Regions from separate parts of the Homo sapiens genome. Here region 1 is linked to region 2. The links are contacts of gene promoters, found by promoter capture Hi-C in blood cells and fetal thymus (Javierre and others, 2016). All regions are on one chromosome and are shown on one strand. Each heading gives the region's core, a stretch centred on a gene start or on the middle of the fragment in contact. The rest is flanking DNA. Distances are from core to core; before and after follow the strand shown.

Region 1 (2,700 bases), core at 94-2,593, 270 kb before region 2:
CATTTGTGGTCATCATTAACAAAGCATAATAAGGATTTTTGAGTCATTAGAAGCCAGGATTCACAGGTAGAGTGGTAGATGTCGCAAAGTCATTAAGAAAATGGTGTTAGGGAACTGCAGAGGCAAGGAGATCTGTGTTGTTTCAAAACAAACAGGTTCCAAAAAGTCATGGTTTTGTAATAACAGTATTGCTACCTTTTTCTCATAACAAAAAATAGGAAATTAGCCAAGAACAATGCATTTAATAATAAAGAATACAAAGAGATGGTACCTGGATACTGTAACAAATCTTCACGTGCACTGATTGGACAATAGACAAAACAGATTGCCTTTCTCTGCCCATCATCCTAAATCTTCAATGATAAATCATCATATCTCACATGTACTGATGAATTTTTAAATATATGTTTTTAATCAAATTGTTTATATAGGCAGGGGCCCTGTTAAAAAAGACAAACAAACAACAACAAAACAACAACAACAACAAAAAACACTTGCCTGAGGCACTGGATACCCAAAGGAAAGTGGCTTTGAATGGCCTTGTTCTAGGAGTTTCTGTCCCTAACAAGAAGGGTTTTGAATACATGGTCTGTTTGCCTAGTAACAGCTAAGGCTGAGTAAGGAATGGAGAAGCCTTGCACTAGCCCTCCCCACACATTTACTTATTTTGGCAATGCAAATTAATAATCAAGGAGGTAAGACAAAGAGATAAATCACTAGAAAATGACGGCACTGAAATGGCAGCCAATACAATTGTGTGAAGACCTCAGCACAAAGATCTGATAGTTTTAACCAATCCAGAGAAAATTTACTTGTCAACAACATTGAGTCTTCCAATCTACTAATATAATCTATTTGTTTATTTCAGTCTTTAATTTGAGTCATATCATGTAGTTTTCAGTATTTAGGTCTTACATACCTTTAAGTAAGTTAAATCCTAAGTAATGTTTGATGCTACTGTAATCAAAATGTTTTTTATTCTTTTTTCAGTTGTTTGTTGCTCATATGTATTTATTGGTTACCCATTGCCACATAACAAATTGCTCCAAACATTAGTGGCTAAAAACAATAATGATTTAGTTACTCATGGTTTCTGTGGATCAGGAATTTAGATAGGGCACAGTGGGGATAATTTGTCTCTACTGTGACTGGGGCCTCAGCTGGAAGACTCAATGACTGAGGGGCTAAAATCTCTGATAGCTTAACTGAGACTGGAACATGCACTTCCAAAACGACTTACTAACATAGCTGACAGGGTGGTGCTGGCAACTGGTTCCTCTTCACTTGGGCCTCTCCTCAGAACTGCTTGAATGTCCTTCATGGCAAGACCCCTGGCTCCAGACGAAGCCATCCAAAAGAACAAGGCAGAAATAGTAATGCCTATTGTGACCTCACCTCAGACGTCACACACGCTCACTTCCACCAGGTTCTATTAATTAGAAGCAAGGTGTTATGACCAGCCCACATTCAAGGAAAGGCGATTAGAATCCACCTTTTAAAGAGAAGGGTGCCAAAGAATTTGTGGAAATTTGAAAACTACCACAATGTATTACGATTTTTTTGTACATTATTATCCTGAGATCTTTCTAATAGCTTTTTTGTAGATTCCTTGGGATTTTCTATATATACAATCATGACATCTCTAAATAAAGACAGTTTGACTTCTTCCATCCCTTGTATGTCTTTGATTGTTTTTTTGTATGATTGTGCTGGAGAAGACCTCCAGAATAATGGAGACCATAAGTGGTGAGCATGCAAATCCTTGCCCAATTCCTGACCTAGGGTGAAAAGTATTGTCTTTCACCATTAAGTATGATGTTAACTGCAGATTTTTTGTAGATGCCCTTTATAATGTTAAGGAAGGTCCCTGCTCTTCCTACTTTCTTTAATATTTTTATCAATAAATGAGTGTTGCATTTTTCTGAATTCTTTCTCAGCAATTGTTGAAAAGATCATATGAATTTTTTCCTTTATTAATATGATAAGTTACATTGATTGATTTTCAGATGTTAAACCACTTGAAATTCCTGGGTTAATCCTCAGTCATGATGTGTTATTCTCTGTATTTATTTTTAGTTCAGTTTACTAACGTGTTAATGATTTTTTTCATTTACATTCATGAGACATATTTGTTTGTAGTCTGCTTTTCTTATGATGGTTTTTGTTTTAGGATAAGCTTATCCTCATATCCTAAATGTGGAATTATTTCTTTCTCCTAAGTGTTTTAAGAGCATGTATATGATTAGTGTTATTTTATTCTATTTATTTATTTATTTATTTATTTTTAAAGACAGGGTCTCACTCTGTCCCCCAGGCTGGAGTACAGTGGTGTGAACATAGCTCACTGCAGCCTCAAACACCTAGGCTCAAGTGATCCTCCTGCCTTGGTTTCCCAAAATGCTGAGATTACAGGTGTGAGCCACTGTGCCCAGCCCATTTTCTTCTTTAAGTGTTTAATAGAATTCACGCGTGAAGCTAGATATGAAGGTTTTTATTTGTTGAAAAGTTATTAATTGTAAATTTAATTTCTTTCACTGCTACAGAACTATTTCAGTTTTCTAACTCTTCTTGAGTTAGTTTTAAAAATGTATCTTTCAAGGAATTTATCCCTTCTTTCTAAGTTATTGTTTTTATTGATATGAAGCTATTTATAATGTTTTTCTTAACCTCTTAATGTCTGTAGGATCTGTAAAGTCCCCA
Region 2 (2,700 bases), core at 149-2,648:
TGTGGAGGCTGAGGTGGGAAGATTACTTAAGCCTGAGAGGCAACGGCAGTGAGTTGTGATTACACCACTGCACTCCAGCCTGGGCAACAGAGCCAGATCCTGTCTCAAAAAAAAAGAAAAAAAGAAAAGAAAATCAGGGTCTGGAAAACGTGCTTACTAAGGGACTCGAAATTGGGATGTTACAACAGCAACAAACTTTCTCTACTTCAGCCCCTACAAGTCCCCGTATCTTTTAAGGAATCTCTCTTTCTTCTTTGCCCTTTAAGAGTCAAAGTGGTTAAATAGATTGGATGTTAGGGTATGTGGCACAGGGATAAATCCTAACTTAATTGCTGCTAGATCTTAGCCTAGCATGTGTGAACAGGTCTTAGCAGACTACTTGAAAACTTTAGTGAAAACATTAGTACTGACTCATGATCATGTATCTAATAATTACTCTTCTAATATTAGGTCCAGTAATGTGTAGTTTTGCTAAGAAATCTAAAGTTATAAATAACATGTTGAAATTTTAAAGTGCTTTGGATGTTGAAATCTGCATGTCAATAGCTCACCTTTTCTCAGGGTTTTCGTGCTAGTAGCTTAGTTATTATCCTGATAGGATGTTTGGAAGTTTCTGGGTAAGGAAACAGATCTGTTCTTCTGCTGGGCTAGTCCACCTGTTTCAGGTCCTGAAAAGCTACTGACCTAGTGGACTTCAGACTCCTTGCTTTGTCTTAGCGTTTGAGTTCTTTTAATTCTGGCTGGTAGCTGACCTGTTTGTTAATACATCTGGAATGAAAAGTCTGTTTTTCTAGCCAGGCGCGGTGGCTCACGCCTGTAATCCCAGCGCTTTGGGAGGCCGAGGTGGGCGAATCATGAGGTCAGGAGTTTAAGACCAGCCTGGCCAACATGGTGAAACCCCGTCTCTACTAAAAATACAAAAAATTAGCTGGGCATAGTGGTGAGTGCCTGTAATCCCAGCTACTCGGGAGGCTGAGCAGGAGAATCTCTTAAACCTGGGAGACAGAGGTTGCAGTAAGCCGAGATTGGCGCCACTGCACTCCAGCCTGGTGACAGAGTGAGACTCTGTCTAAAAAAAAAGAAAGAAAATTCTGTTTTTCTGACTGCTAGCTCTGGTTTTATTCTAGCTAACTCCATCTCATTTCTCAGCTCTTTCTGAGAAACTCACTGGCTATATCTCACTCCACTCAACCTTACTGTTTTTCATGTCCCTCCTCTTTTCTCCCATATCACATCCTCTTTTTCCTATCCTTATAAAGGATATGCCATGTCACTCTGGAATAGCTGACTTCCTGTGTATCTTCCCAGCCTGTAAGCTCTTTGAAAGTACATTCCACGCTTTATGTGATTTTTAAAACTCACAAGCCCAGCGTAGCCAATAGTACCATATTGCCTGGTTGTTAGGAAGTTTTCAATGAATGTTGAATTAATGTTGAATACAAGAATCAAACTTTGGGGAGGAAGATTATAACAATGTAAGAGTCTTTAGAAATTCACTACAAAGATCCATTAATTTGACTTCCTAAAGCGGGGTAAATTAACTTTATCTACTGAAATGTAAGTGTCTTTCCAGGCAAGGTGGCTCACGCTTGTAATCCCACCACTTTGGGAAACCAAGGCGGGTGGATCGTGAGTTCAGGAGTTCAAGACCAGCCTGACCAATATGGTGAAATCCCATCTCTACTAAGAATACAAAAAAAATTAGCCAGGCGTGGTGGCACATGCCTGTAGTCCCGGCTACTCGGGAGGCTGAGGCAGGAGAATCACTTGAACCCAGGAGGCAGAGGTTGCAGTGAGCCGAGATCATACCACTGCACTCCAGCCTGGTGACAGAGTGAAACTCTGTCAAAAAAAAAAAAAAAGTTTCTGTGGAATGGACAACATATTTGGGCCTTAATTTAATATCCATAGTTCATCCAATTAACTCCTTCCAAGGGTTCTCTGGCAGTGGTTCTTAACTTAGTCCCTGGGGGTGGGGGATGGGCAGGGACTGCATTTCCTGTCACCAAGTGACCTTAGGGCAACAAAATCTCTAGCGTAGACTGGAAAGTGTGCGACCCATGACTTCTCCAGTAATGAGGGACCCTCTCTCCTCCATCACTGCACAAAGGGACTGCTGCAGAGGTGTAGGTCTAGTTCTGGCTTTTCCGATTTTGTCATGGATTGGGCTCCTCGGGGACACCCAGACACAGAGAGCAGGACTTTTATTGCCACGAGGTAGCCGAACTCTTAACCTTTCTGGTTTATATAACTATTAAAAAATGACATTATTTGTAAGTGTGGACACTGATGGAAAATCGTCGGTTATTAGGCATACAGTAACTGCTGTTGTTCCTGGTCTTGCAGGCCTGGACTGACTACCGCGATGTTACCCTCATCTTTAAGGGCTGTCACACCCTAGCTCAGAGAGAGCAAGGGACAACCTTCAATGCGCTGGGTGTAGTCAGGCTGTAGATCATGTGAAAGCCTGGAGGAGTACAGTCACCAGCTGGTTCACTGTCTTCCTTGCAGCCCACTTAGCAGTAGTTTCGGAACTCGCTGGAGGAGGCTTGCGGGGGTGGGGCTGGAATGCCTCCTGCATTCCTCCTCGCCTCTTCCTCCTGGCTGCATTTGCGGGTGCGGGGGAGGGGCGAGCGCAGGGAGCAGAGCGCAGCGGCTGAGTCCAGCCAGCGCTGGTGGCTCCCAAGGCCCCGAGCACGT

The links. Contacts are between HindIII fragments. The CHiCAGO score rates a contact against its expected background, and 5 or more counts as called.
Region 1: a contact is called between the fragment with the promoter of PLBD1-AS2 here and a fragment that was not itself captured in region 2, in 1 of 17 cell types (neutrophils). The highest score is 6.5, in neutrophils.

What each region holds. Positions count from the first base shown.
Region 1 is chr12:14,528,782-14,531,481 of GRCh38, reverse strand. It overlaps PLBD1-AS2 (PLBD1 antisense RNA 2), which reads right to left and starts at 1,343. Exons shown (of 5, transcript NR_187784.1): 1 at 1,241-1,343; 2 at 272-440. The region is part of intron 6 of PLBD1 (phospholipase B domain containing 1); the gene reads left to right. The HindIII fragment of the contact is 11,029 bases long and covers 1-2,178 here.
Region 2 is chr12:14,260,646-14,263,345 of GRCh38, reverse strand. No RefSeq gene overlaps it. Among named protein-coding and RNA genes, the nearest start is that of ATF7IP, 100 kb to the left of the region's middle. The HindIII fragment of the contact is 4,043 bases long and covers 1-2,700 here.